5 separate regions of the Homo sapiens genome follow, and all the other regions are linked to region 4. The links are contacts of gene promoters, found by promoter capture Hi-C in blood cells and fetal thymus (Javierre and others, 2016). All regions are on one chromosome and are shown on one strand. The core of a region is centred on a gene start or on the middle of the fragment in contact, and the rest is flanking DNA. Distances in the headings are between cores, read along the strand shown. Region 1 overlaps AGPAT5 (1-acylglycerol-3-phosphate O-acyltransferase 5). Region 2 overlaps MCPH1-AS1 (MCPH1 antisense RNA 1). Region 3 overlaps MCPH1-AS1 (MCPH1 antisense RNA 1). Region 4 holds the start of MCPH1 (microcephalin 1). Region 5 overlaps AGPAT5 (1-acylglycerol-3-phosphate O-acyltransferase 5).

The links. The method cuts DNA at HindIII sites, captures the fragments that hold promoters and counts their contacts. A CHiCAGO score of 5 or more calls a contact.
Region 1: a fragment that was not itself captured here is called in contact with the fragment with the promoter of MCPH1 in region 4 in 12 of 17 cell types (activated CD4 T cells, total CD8 T cells, total CD4 T cells and 9 more); the score reaches 23.9 in activated CD4 T cells.
Region 2: a contact is called between a fragment that was not itself captured here and the fragment with the promoter of MCPH1 in region 4, in 8 of 17 cell types (total B cells, naive B cells, fetal thymus and 5 more). The highest score is 10.1, in total B cells.
Region 3: a contact is called between a fragment that was not itself captured here and the fragment with the promoter of MCPH1 in region 4, in 16 of 17 cell types (fetal thymus, total B cells, naive B cells and 13 more). The highest score is 23.9, in fetal thymus.
Region 5: a fragment that was not itself captured here is called in contact with the fragment with the promoter of MCPH1 in region 4 in 17 of 17 cell types (total CD4 T cells, fetal thymus, activated CD4 T cells and 14 more); the score reaches 31.4 in total CD4 T cells.

What each region holds. Positions count from the first base shown.
Region 1 is chr8:6,738,338-6,741,037 of GRCh38, forward strand. The region is part of intron 4 of AGPAT5 (1-acylglycerol-3-phosphate O-acyltransferase 5); the gene reads left to right. Among named protein-coding and RNA genes, the nearest start is that of MIR4659A, 5.5 kb to the right of the region's middle. The HindIII fragment of the contact is 1,782 bases long and covers 487-2,268 here.
Region 2 is chr8:6,662,052-6,664,751 of GRCh38, forward strand. All of the region lies in intron 1 of MCPH1-AS1 (MCPH1 antisense RNA 1), which reads right to left. Among named protein-coding and RNA genes, the nearest start is that of MIR8055, 41 kb to the left of the region's middle. The HindIII fragment of the contact is 8,157 bases long and covers 1-2,700 here.
Region 3 is chr8:6,684,256-6,686,955 of GRCh38, forward strand. All of the region lies in intron 1 of MCPH1-AS1 (MCPH1 antisense RNA 1), which reads right to left. Among named protein-coding and RNA genes, the nearest start is that of MCPH1-AS1, 23 kb to the right of the region's middle. The HindIII fragment of the contact is 1,042 bases long and covers 800-1,841 here.
Region 4 is chr8:6,405,177-6,407,876 of GRCh38, forward strand. MCPH1 (microcephalin 1) reads left to right here and starts at 1,451. Exons shown (of 14, transcript NM_024596.5): 1 at 1,451-1,513. The coding sequence starts at 1,492. It overlaps MCPH1-DT (MCPH1 divergent transcript), which reads right to left and starts at 1,372. Exons shown (of 2, transcript NR_040040.1): 1 at 530-1,372. RefSeq lists silencers at 1,193-1,272, 1,533-1,712. The HindIII fragment of the contact is 9,682 bases long and covers 1-2,700 here.
Region 5 is chr8:6,760,555-6,763,254 of GRCh38, forward strand. It overlaps AGPAT5 (1-acylglycerol-3-phosphate O-acyltransferase 5), which reads left to right. Exons shown (of 8, transcript NM_018361.5): 8 at 1-949. Among named protein-coding and RNA genes, the nearest start is that of MIR4659B, 17 kb to the left of the region's middle. The HindIII fragment of the contact is 3,469 bases long and covers 1-2,700 here.

The DNA.
Region 1 (2,700 bases), core at 128-2,627, 330 kb after region 4:
CGGTAGAGAGAAAGAGAGACAGGAGAACAGGCCATCATTGGAGCAGTCAGAACACACACGACATTTATCAATTAAATTTGTCATCTTATATGGGTGCAATTCATGGCACCCCCAAACAATTACAATAGTAACATCAGAGATCACAGATCACAATAACAGATATAATAATATGAAATATTGTGAGATTACCGAAATATGACACAGAGACGTGAGGTGAGCACATACTGTTGGAAAAATGGCACCAATAGACTTGCTCGATGCAGGGTTGTCATAAACCTTCAATGGGAAAAAAATGCAATTTCCGTGAAGCTCAGTAAAGCGAAGCATGATAAAATGAGATGAGCCTGTCACTCCTAAGAATGTTCCTGTACAAGTTTTTTGCATCTGTTACTTACCTTTTCCTATTTGTGAATAGTATCTTTTTTGAGTACGTGTGTTTTTTTATTTTTATACATTTATATGTATCTTTTGAAGAACATACTTTTAAGCTTAATTTATTGATTTTTTTTCTCTCATAATTTCCACTTTTTGTATCCTATTTAAGAAGTCCTTGCCAAACTTAAGGTTGCTAAGATTTTCTCCTTTGTTTTCTTCTGGAAATTTTAGAGTTTTGCTTTTACATTTAGTTCTAGGATTTATTTATAATTAATGTTTTCATATGGTGTAAGATCGAAGTTCATATTTTTTTAATATAGGTAACCATCACTATAGAAAAGATTATTTCCCCCCAATGTTTGAAATAAGTAGACTGAATATAGATGGGTCTGTTATCCCTAGATCAATGGAGCATTTGTTCTGTTATATTGATCTATATATATATATCCTTATGCCAATACCATACTGTCTTAATAATGCTTGCTTTGCAGTAAGTTTTTAAATAGTGTAGTTGTCTTCTAAATTTGTTCTTTCTTTTCAAAGTTGTTTTGGCTATTTTAGGTTTTTTGCATTTCTGTGTGAATTATAGAATTAGCTCGACAATTTCTACCCAAAGTTTGTGGGCTTTTCATTTTGATTGTATTGAAGATATAGATGAATTTGGGAAGAATTGATATAACAGGATTGAATCTTTGGATTCATGAACGTAGCCTGCATTTGTTTACTTAGGTCTTCTTTATTTATCTCAGTGTGTTTTGTAGTTTAATGTACAGATTTGCACATCTTTTGCCAGATATATCCCTAAGAATTTCAGTTTTTGATACTATTGTAGATGACATTTAAAAAAATTTCAAGTTTTTGTTTGTTGACCTAGGCATATATTTGACTTTTTAATATACTAACCTTGCTAAACTTATTTATCATCTAGTAACTTACAAAATATATTCCTTAGGATTTCCTACATAAACAATCATGTCATTGTTATAGAAATAACAGTTTTACTTTGTCCTTTTTAATCTTGATGGCTTTTATTTCTTTTTCTTGCTAAATTTTCTGGCTAGACCTCCTAGTACAGCCTTGACTAGAACTGGTGTGAGGGAAATCCTTTCCATATTCCTCATCTTTAGGGAAAAGCACTCATTCTTTTATCCATTCTTTAGTTCCTAGCCCCATTGCCCTTCCTAAATTTTTTCTCATCATTTTCCTTCATCACACCTTGTTCTTTTTCTTTGCAATCATATCATGATATGTAACGACATGTTTTTATTTATCTGTTTAATGTATTTCTTTTCCTCACTTGTCCATGAAGGGAAGGACCATATGTGTTGTTATCCTTTGTGCAGTTCCTGGAACATAATAAGTATATAAGAAATAGTTTCTGAATTAGCTGTGAATGAATTCATGCCTTCCTGCTGTCTGTCAATGTTCTTTTAAATTAAACATCTAAGACAGCAAATAATACCACATGAGTTATTAACCTGAGAAATAATCGTTTTATTTATAAATGACTGAGTTGAAAGCTGATAGCCCACAGTAATTGCTTTCATGGCTTTGAATATAAACCTTACTGTTACAAAACACATTTTCATGAAAATGAATGTGTGGTGTTTGGAACTAGCTTTAATGTTTGTCTTCCTGTTTTTCCTTCTAGTTGCTATAATATAATAAGGAATTTTGTATGTTTTTCCTAATTGTACCCACTTTTCTACATTTTCTTAACAGATCTGGTGAATCTTCATTATTAAATATAATTATACATATAAATTATTGTTTAATAATAATATTAATTATTAAAAATAATATAAATTATTAAATATAAAGATACATATAATATTATCTGTTAATTTCTAAGTTAGGTGTGGGTTCTGAAGACTATTATATGAATGAACAAAAAGCTTGCATATTTGCGTGGAAGCTGAAAGTACGAAATTTTTAGATACCATTATACCAGTATCTAAAGAAAAAATTCAGTACCACATAGGTTTTTAAGTAGGAGCTGTATGATCATAGGTCATCCAGATGAAGGAAGGCTTCTGTACCAGACGTACAGAGGTAGACAGTGTTGTCTGAGTACTGTCTGAGATCTGGCAAGAATGAATCCAATAAACGTAGTTTTCTCCCATGAGCTCCTGTCTTGTTTCCTGTATTCTGTTTGTATTTGAAAAGATTTGGTGTGCATAACTTATTTTTGTCTTTTGGCTGTCAATCAAAGTTATTAGTGTAGTTTTTGTAACTCAGTTCTCAAGCTAGGAGTTTTTGCTGTATAATTTTAATGTTTCTGTTTTTACTTTCCTAAGCAGATAAGCGTAAAAACTTAGACTAATT
Region 2 (2,700 bases), core at 150-2,649, 260 kb after region 4:
CACCACCCCTTTTTAAAGATTTATTAGATTCAGGGGCTACTTTATAATATCCTTGGAGCCCAAATTAGACTTTAAGCACATAACATATCTGAGCTTGAGGAGTTTAACTTCTTCAACAAAGGAGCAAAGAGATTTGGTGAAATGACCCCCATGGTCCCTAATGCTGATGGACCCACCGAAGTTAGCCTGTCACCAGAAGCAAAGGGATACTATTTTTAAGATATGAGGATCTTTTCCACATTTCTGTTCAAAGCAGTAACTTTGCAGCTTCATCTATTGAAGGCCTCATCTCCACCTGCTTTTCCTACCCTGGATTCACAGGGCTTGTGGTGCCCTCTCCCTGCCTCCACTCACCTTCCAACAAGTGCTGGAGTTTGATTCACACCAAACAGAAATAGCCAAAATTTGTAAGAACTCTATTGGGCAGCTCTTCTGTATCAATGACTGTACAGGCTCCAAGGGCCAGAAATAATGAAGATACAGCACCTATCTCAGCGAGCTGACAGCCTTGAAGGGGGATGAGGCTGGAAAACAAATGACAACACAGTGTGATAAGTTCACTGCAGACCAGGGAGAGCGACAACTTTGAGAAAGGGTGATTGCTTTTAAACGGAAAGGAAAAGAGCTTGGGAAATACTTCCAGAAGAAACTGACATCTAACTTAGGTGAGTTTTCTTTTTTTTTAGGTGGGGTCTCACTGCGTTGCACAGGCTGCAGTGCAGTGGCTATTCAGAGGCATGGTCATAGCTCACTGCAGCCCTGAATTCCTGCACTCAAGCGATCCTCCTCCCTCAGCCTCCTGAGTGGCTGCAACTACAGGTGCATGCCACCATGCCTGACTCTCTAACATAGGTTTCAAAGGAAGCATAGGAGTTCCGAGTGGAAAAGAGACCAAGGGAGAGGCCCGTGCCAGTCCCGAAGGTGAGGGGAGGTCTGAGGGCCTCAGGATTGCTGGAACTTCCAGTGGAAGGGCACGTTGAGGGGACGCAAGTGAGATATAAGCGTTGGGTAGTTAAGAAAGGCTATTGAAATTTTCCAGACAAGAAATGTTAAGGCGCAGAACACAGTGCTCACAGAGAGGGAAAGGAGGAGGTGGATTAGAAATGAAATTTTGGAAATGAAATTATTTGCTGCCTGAGTGGCTACGCAGGAGGAGCAGGGGGACAGAGTCAATCTGGATGAGTCTTGGACTCAGGCATAAAGTGTCAGCAGTCTTGGGAGGATCCACATCCTCACGGGAACCAGCTCCTTCAGCTAAAGGGAAAAGGTGCTTGGTGCTTCAGCCGGCCCAGAGCGTGCCCTCCATGGACACAAAGAAGCCAAGTTCTTGTTGCTAAAGGTGTTCAACAGAGAAATGTTGGAGGGCCAATTAAAGGCAAAGCCCACCACTTTATAACCACATTTTAGGCATATTAAACATTCTAGAATGTAATCATCAGACTTCTAAACTGAGCCATTTGTGTTATCCAAGAAAGTAAATCAGTGACTTATGTTTGCAGCAATATAATGAACATTATAATGGACCCCTGAAAATGCAGAGTGAATGGTAGGGAATTTGCAAGAAAGGTAGAGAAACGCTCTACCACTGGAGACAAGGTGGAGAAGCAGGTTGACATCCAAGCTGGGGAACATCATGTTGACCGAGCATTGTGTATACACAGGGCGTGTGTGCATCTGCGTGTGTGTGCATGTGTGTATATGTGCATTCATGTGTGTGTGTATGGGAGGTGGGCCGGGACAGGGGAGTTGGAATGGAGACCAACCTGATAAAGCTGACACTCTGGAAGGGTTAGACTCCCAGGAAGAAAGTTAAGAAGGGAGAAGGATAACATCTGCACAAAGGCAAACACAAAGCAACATCCTTTGTCAGCAACATCCTTAGGCACCTGGAAGAAGCAGACACACAACTTCCAGGAATAATGTCCCTGAACCTGGGCTTCTGATGATTCCCACCAATATGACCATCAATTAGAATGCGTGCACACACACAATTCCAAATAAATCATCAAGACAATCATTAGGAAAAATAACAGGACCAGATAGACCAAGACTTCAGGTGTTGGCGTCATCAGATACGGATGATACATGTTAAAAGAAATAAAAGGACGGAAAACCATGAGAACGGAACAAGAATGATAAGATGGAATTGAAAAGGAGGCAGATAGAACTTACAGAAAAAATTTTTTAAACTTAGAATTTAATATTGTTTAAAACGTTTTAGGTCCCCACATAAAAATAGATGGCCTGGGTAGCAAACCTAAGCCAAGGGCACCTTATGAGCTCCTTACAAGGGGCAAATTACTGCCAGCCACGAGCCCCATGAGGTTCCAGGTTCTGCATGGGTGGAAGAAGGAAACTCCAGGCAGCAGCAGACAGCTCTGGGAACAGCAGAATACCACACAGCTCAAGGTTATTCTCCATCTTTTGCTCTGTATTACCAGGAAGCCCAGCAGGGCCAACTGGACGAAAGCGCTTGGGTTTTGCCCAATGCAACTGCATATAATCGAGAGCAAGGGACCCACAGCTGGAAGGGCCCAAGAGTCTGGAGCTCTCTATCTCCCATGAACTCTCAAAACTGACCCATCTGAGTGCCTGTCTGGGCCAGGGCCCTACCCCGAGGAGAAATTCCTGGGAGTAGAATCAAAATCAATCAAGACAGGCATGACAGAGACAAGAGAAAAAGAAGGTCCACACCAGGCC
Region 3 (2,700 bases), core at 71-2,570, 280 kb after region 4:
TATTAGGGGCTGTGGAGAGGTGGGAGTCAGGGGTTGTTGTTTAGTGGGTGCAGGGTATCAGTTTTGCAAGATGAAGGAGGTTGATGGTACAACAACATCAATGTGCTTAGTGCTACTGAACCGTATACTTAAAATTGGTTATGATAGTAAATTTTAATTTATATGTATTTTGCCACAAAAATACATTAATTTAAAAACTAACTGTTATGCAGAAGTGTGGATAAATGGCACAGGAAAACAGGTACAGGAGAGATTAAACTTCTACAAGATGTATATAATCACATAGATCACTATACTAAATACGGCAAGAGCTTCAGGTCAATTTGTCTTTTATTCTTTAAAAGGTTTTCTGGGGCCGGGCACCGTGGCTCATGCCTGTTATCCCAGCACTTTGGGAGGCTAAGGCGGGTGGATCACGAGGTCAGGAGTTCGAGATCAGCCTGGCCAACATGGTGAAACCCCATCTCTACTAAAAATACAAAAATTAGCTGGGCGTGGAGGCGTGTGCCTGTAATCCCAGCTACTTGGCAGGCTGACGCAGGAGAATCGCTTGAACCCGGGAGGCGGAGTTTGCAGTGAGCCGAGATCGTGCCATTGCATTCCAGCCTGGGTGACAGGGTGAGGCTCCGTCTCAAAATAAATAAATAAATAAAAATATAAATAAATAAATAAATGGTTTTTTGATATAAGTGCAAAAGATGAGACAAAGGGAATGGCACGCTAGAACCTATACTAGGGACGGAAGTGGAATAAAAAGCAAAATGTATGCTTTGAAGATCTAAAATCTGAAAATTGAGCAAGCTTTCTTGCATCCAACATGACAGCAGAGGATCAGTTGAACAAATCCGTGTCCAAAAGAAAAAAAGACAAGCCATTCGCTTAGCGGAGGAAAACTTATCCTAATTAAAAACAAAATCCCAACCTTGAAAGAGCCACAGATCTTATCGTGATCTTACTACCGTTATACCAACATTCATGTCATTAAAAGCAATTATCTGGAGCAATTATCCAACTATATACATATATATGGGCAAGAACTAGAAGAAACCAGAGAATTAAGAAAATAGTTTGACACTGATATATTCATCTAATATTATACTTAGTGTCTTCTGTGTGCCAAGCACAGTCCTGGGTGTCAGGGACACAGCAGTGAACAAAACAGATAAAACTCCTTGCCCTCATGTGGTTTATATGCTAATGTGGAAGACAGAAGATAAACTACATAGATAAGGGTGGTAGGTTGTCTTCAAAGATGACTGCCAACAATTCCTCTAATTGCTGCACACACTTGCCACTCTCCCCATCAAGAGGTGGAATCTATTTCCCTTTCATTTGTATCTGGTTGGCCCTGAGACTTGCTCCAACCTATAGGATATGATGCAGTGCACACATGCCTTTTACAGGACCAGCTCCTGAGAGACCTCACAGCTTCCACACTCCCTCACTTGAAGCCTAGAGTCATCAGGTAAGAAGTTTGGCTGTCCTGCTGGAGGGAAGAGACTCAGCCAGCCCCCAGCTGAAGTGCAGATGTCTGTGTGAAGCCAGGTGGGTGTCCCAGTCCCAGCTGAGCTTCCAGATGAAGGCAACAGCGTTGTGACTCCCACTGGCACCATGTCCAGCAGAACGACCATCCAGCTGAGCCCAGTCAAATCACAGAATCTTGAGAAACCATAAGTTGTTGTTTTAAGCCCCTAATGCAGCTAACTGAAATAATAGGCTAAATGTAGTGTAGGTTCATTACTGATAACCCAGGGCAGTGCTAGAGCCTGTGAGTATTGCCTCACAAGAGGCAATAAATTTTCAGGAGTTCTGTGAGCCATTATTAAGAATTACATTATATAAGCTTATAATTACAAACATTTAAACAAATAATATTCAAATATGTGTAACTATTTTACTACTATCTCTTCTTGAGGTTATTTGCATGCACTGGGTCTGCACAGTGGAAATACCATGTCACGGTACGCTACTGTGCATCTCTTCCCACCTCCATGTTCAGCCATGGTATGAGTATTTACACCAGGGAAACTAGCAAGCTCTATAAACCAGAGCTTGATTGTTTTCTTGTTTCTCTGGACTTAAGAAAATGATAGAGAAAAATGTTACCGTGGATTAAACTTAAAAGTGTATTATGGCAGGGTGCGGTGGCTCATGCCTGTAATGCCAGGACTTTGGGAGGCCAAGGCAGGCGGATCATGAGGTCAAGAGATTGAGACCATCCTTGCCAACATGGTGAAATCCCATCTCTACTAAAAATACAAAAATTAGCTGGGCATGGTGGCGCATGCCTGTAATCCTAGCTACTTGGGAGGGTGAGGCAGAAGAATCACTAGAACTTGGGAGGTGGAGGTTGCAGTGAGCTGATATCGTGCCACTACACTCCAGCCTGGCGGCAGAGCGAGACTCCATCTCAAACAAACAAACAAAAACTGTATTATGTCTATAACTGCCACATTATGAATAGCACAAAAATTTGAGGAAATATTCTTCCAGAAAAGCATCAATCAATTCAGGAAACAAATGGGTGAGGTTTTAATATACATCTTTGTAGCCATTTTACTTTGGTCTTCCTCATAAACATAAATAAATGCAGCAATCAACATTCATGCTGGAACTGTATTCACTTGACAATTGAAACCAGAGGTTGGCTACAAGATTACTGCAAAAATTAACAAAAATGCTCTATGAGAATTAATTATT
Region 4 (2,700 bases), core at 201-2,700:
TAATATTTCTAGAAGAAATCCTAGGAGAAAATATTTGTGATCGTGGAGATGAAGAATCTATCAAATACTAAACTTTTTTTACCACCTTGACCAAAAGTAATTGGTTTATATACTTCATCATATCATTTAATTCAAAATCTACAGAGATCAATGTCACTTTCTCAGTAAAAGTACGTGAGTCTTCAATGATGCCCTGAACTCACACTCCCAAGTAAACCATAACACCATATTTCCAGAGTAGAGTTTATTAGAACAATAACTGGTGATAATGATAAATATTGATCAAAGACTGAGCCTAGGAAGTGGGTTTTTTGAGGCTGCATATACTCAAGGCAATTCTTCAGAACCACAGAGGGCTCATTGGATCCTATTAAAAGCTGAGAGTGAATGAATAAACAGATAAAACAGAGACCTGAGTAGACGGTAGTCGATATTCTTTTACATGTATTCTACCTCTAGATTCCATAGAAAGAACTAAAAGTACATGAATTTCACTACCAACATCTCCATCAGTTACCAGCTGTATCACCTTGGATCAGTCAGGTAACCTCCCGCGAATCTGGTTGCTTCCGGGGCAGGGGATCCGCGGGCTGCAGGTTTGAGCCTGGTTGCCGGCAGGGTGGAGCAGCTGGAGGGCCAAGCCTTTGAGCTCCAGGGGGGGTGGCCGGGACAGTGGGTAGTGCCAGCCGATCGGCGTCCTGGGGATTGCCTGAATGTGAGGTCTGGGTTCACCCCGCGGTGACCTGAGTCCTGGGATGCCCCTACAGGGATTTGCTGCCTCAGGGATCCGAAGTCTCTTTCATTCCCTTACTGGGGATTTGAGGTCTGGAGGTACTCCTGCGGGGGTCTGAGATCTCGGGGTCACCCTGTGGGGGTCTGAAGCCTCGGGGTCCCCGCGTGGGGTCTGAGGTATCAGAGTCCCCTCCGTTGGGTCTGAGGTCTCGGGGTCCCCCATCCCCGGGATCGGAGGTCCGGCTCCCCGGAGCAGGCAGGGCGGTGCGTCTGGCCCTGAACAGTAACGTGGCGCGCCAGCCCCAGGTGGTGTCGGGCTAGGGGGGCATAACGGTGCCGAAAGTCCGCACAAAGCCGTCCGCTGGGGTCCCGCCGCGTCCGCGAGGGAATGACTGTGCCCCCTCCCCTTCCTGATCCTCAGCTCAGGTGAGCCCAGATGAGGCGCCGGGTAGCTTCTAAGTCACTAATGGAAATAGAAGGCTAATTCAGGGGTTAGGGGCCGTCGTCCTCCTTACTCCCAGGAGAAGAGAAAAACCCACGGCCCAGCAGCCAGAGGCGCGGCGAGGCGGAATCGGGCCCCCTCCCCGGGGGCTCAGCTCCCTCCAGCCTCCCGCCTCACCTACAGAGAAATCCCGGAAACGCGGATTCAGCGGAGCGCGGTGACGGCGGCGCGCTCACCCCGCGCATGCCCAGTGCCCGCGCGCGCCGCCAGGCTCGCAAGCACCGCGTAGGCCAGCTGGCCGGATCCCGCCGTCTGTCATGGCGGCCCCCATCCTGAAAGGTGAGGTACTTCCTGCTGCCTGCTCCAGCAGCGGGAGTTTGAGGACCGGCACCCCTCGTCGCGGGCGCACTCGGGGGATCCCGTGGGAGGAGCCCCGCTCGCCCCTCCCTCGCTGCCTGTCTCCCCCAGACCCCCTGCCGCCTCCTTCCTCCCCCGCTGCCTGTCCCACCAAAACCCCCTGCTCCTGCTCTCTCCCCCGCTGCCTGTCCCCCCAAAACCCCCGGCTGCCTGCTTCGTCTCCCGTGCTCCCTGTCCCCCCAAACCCCCGACTGCCTGCTTCCTCCCCCGTACTGCTTGTGCCCCAACCCCCGTGCTGCTAGTTCCCCTCAATCCCCCGCTGCCTGCTCCCTCCCCCATGCTGCCTGTCCCCCAAATCCCGCCTTTCCCCCTACCTGCTTTCACCCCTGCTGCCTTAGTCCCTGGATCTGGGGCTCACTGGCAGGCAGAGTCCTGCCCTCCGGAAGTTGGTGTGGGGCCCTCCTGGGTCTGGTCCTGTTCGACCCCCTCTGAGGCCCACCTGGAGGAGCGGCAGTTGAGTTTCTATGCTAATTGTTCCAATAATAGGAGCCGCCTTTTACTGCGGAGTCTTTGTGTGCCAGGCGCTGTGCTTAGGCTAGTATGGTATTGTCTGATTTTTTTAACCGCTCTATCAACTCTCTTATATCATTTTACAGGCAGAAACTAAGGCATCGGACGTTTAGGTGACTCTCCCTGTGTGTGGCTAGTCAGTGCTGACAGGGCCTTAGACCGGAGCTGCTGTCCTAACCAGTATATGATACCGCACGCAGTCCCACCCTCTGTGCACCTGGAAGAGCCCAGGAGAGGGGAATAGCGGACACGTGTCTTGTAGAGTTTGACCGTGAGAAAAAAGGGGCCTGTATTGTGGGGCCTGGAGTCATAAAACCTCATAGCCAAAAGTAAAGACTAGAGGCTTTATACAAAGTCTGTAATCAGATGTGGCTATTTTTCTAATGTTAGTATTTTGTTAAATTAACCTGGTTTTCTTTTAGCGTTACCCCCAATCATTGACCAACGGCACACCTGGAAAATGCTTTTAAACATCAGGTTTTGAGAAGAGGATATCCACTAGAACAGGGGTCCACTCACTATGCCCCCCAGGCCATATCTAGCCTGCTGCCTGTTTTTGTAAGGGTCTACGAGCTAAGAATGTCTTTTACATTTTTAAG
Region 5 (2,700 bases), core at 14-2,513, 360 kb after region 4:
TAACCTTAATTTGTTTTTAGTAGTGTTTAGATTGAAGATTGAGTGAAATATTTTCTTGGCAGATATTCCGTATCTGGTGGAAAGCTACAATGCAATGTCGTTGTAGTTTTGCATGGCTTGCTTTATAAACAAGATTTTTTCTCCCTCCTTTTGGGCCAGTTTTCATTACGAGTAACTCACACTTTTTGATTAAAGAACTTGAAATTACGTTATCACTTAGTATAATTGACATTATATAGAGACTATGTAACATGCAATCATTAGAATCAAAATTAGTACTTTGGTCAAAATATTTACAACATTCACATACTTGTCAAATATTCATGTAATTAACTGAATTTAAAACCTTCAACTATTATGAAGTGCTCGTCTGTACAATCGCTAATTTACTCAGTTTAGAGTAGCTACAACTCTTCGATACTATCATCAATATTTGACATCTTTTCCAATTTGTGTATGAAAAGTAAATCTATTCCTGTAGCAACTGGGGAGTCATATATGAGGTCAAAGACATATACCTTGTTATTATAATATGTATACTATAATAATAGCTGGTTATCCTGAGCAGGGGAAAAGGTTATTTTTAGGAAAACCACTTCAAATAGAAAGCTGAAGTACTTCTAATATACTGAGGGAAGTATAATATGTGGAACAAACTCTCAACAAAATGTTTATTGATGTTGATGAAACAGATCAGTTTTTCCATCCGGATTATTATTGGTTCATGATTTTATATGTGAATATGTAAGATATGTTCTGCAATTTTATAAATGTTCATGTCTTTTTTTAAAAAAGGTGCTATTGAAATTCTGTGTCTCCAGCAGGCAAGAATACTTGACTAACTCTTTTTGTCTCTTTATGGTATTTTCAGAATAAAGTCTGACTTGTGTTTTTGAGATTATTGGTGCCTCATTAATTCAGCAATAAAGGAAAATATGCATCTCAAAAATTGGTGATAAAAAGTTATTTCTTGTATATGTGATAAAGTTTACATGTTGTGTATATATGTTGTATTGCCAAATACGGCTATTAAATACTACGTCATATTTTAAAGGTTCAGTTTGTAGTGATAGTAAACAAGCAGTGCACTAAGCCTCTTGCGGGCATCATCTCATCTCACTGTCATCACAAACCCCATGCCACAGCGTAGCTTGACCACTAAAAGTAATGCATCTGCAAGCATACTGCCAGGTTTTGGATAGTTTGTACCAACAGTTACCTTATCAAGGTAAATCCCAGACTCTAAAAGAGTTGGTGCTGTGTCACTACATGCATAACTTTAAATAAATTTCCTGCCGGGCGCGGTGGCTCACGCCTGTAATCCCAGCAGTTTGGGAGGCCGAGGCAAGTGGATCACTTGAGGTCAGGAGTTTGAGACCAGCCTGGCCAACGTGGTGAAACCCTGTCTCTACTAAAAATACAAAAATTAGCCAGGCGTGTGGTGGCAGGCACCTGTAATCCCAGCTACTTGGGAGGATGAGGCAGGAGAATCATTTGAATCCTGCAGGCGGAGGTTGCAGTGAGCCAAGATGGCGTCATTGCACTCCAGCCTGGGCGACAAGAGCGAGACTCCGTATTAAAAAAAAAAAAAAAAAAAAAATTCCTCTCCTGTTTGAGCTTTCCCTTACCTGTAAAGAGGGGAGAATATGTATTTACTTCAAAGAGTTCAGGGAAATGACTCTCACTAGTTTGAGATTCTAGGTATAAAAATACATTCTTATATAATTTTAACACCAATGTGAGAGATTATTATTCTTGCTAAACCAATTCAGTTTTATTTGCTGTCTAAAATGTGTGAATAAGTAATTGTCCATTATTTTCTGAAGTGTTTTGGAACTCAACACATGATTGTGAGGAGGATTTGTTGCTAAACATCTTTCTGGTTATTCAAGCTCGTGTATACTGTGCTCTGTTGAGACATGCAGAGTTACTTTCTGTCTGGGTCACAGGTCAGTTCTTGATAGTTTTCGGACAATTAACCAGTTTTCATTTGCCCATGACCACCTTTATTCTTTTTCCTCAACTGCACCCATCTTTTATAAGGTCTTTCAGTTTATTGCAGAGAAGATGGTGGAGAAAAGCCGGAATTCCCACCCACCGCTGCCATCCCCATGTTTTATCATTGGCTAGAGTGGAAAATAGCAGTAACTACTGTGAGAGATCATTTGTTTATATAATGGAAACAAAGATGAGGAAAGAACCTGGCTTAGATCAGAGAACTGATGTATTTAGATTCTTTTTTTTTTTTTTTTTTAAGACGGAGTGTTGCTCTGTTGCCCAGACTGGAGTACAGTGGCTCAATCTCGGCTCACTGCAACCTCCATTTCCCTGGTTCAAGCAATTATCCTGCCTCAGCCTCCCAAGTATTTGGGATTACAGGCGTGTTCCACCACACCTGGCTAATTTTTTGTATTTTTAGTAGAGACGGGGTTTCGCCATGTTGGCCAGGCTGGTCTCGAAATCCTGACCTCAGATGATCCACCCGCCTTGGCCTCCCAAAGTGCTGGGATTACAGGCGCGAGCCACCGCGCCTGGCCCAATGTATTTGGATTCTTAAAGAACACTTTCAAATTAAATATCAGTTGAAGAGAACTAGAACTAAAGAATTTCTGTGTCAAACTGTTTAGCAAATGTAAGTAGAAGCTGGGAGATGTGTCCTGGAATGAATGAATACATCAGTAAAATACCATACGTATGTTA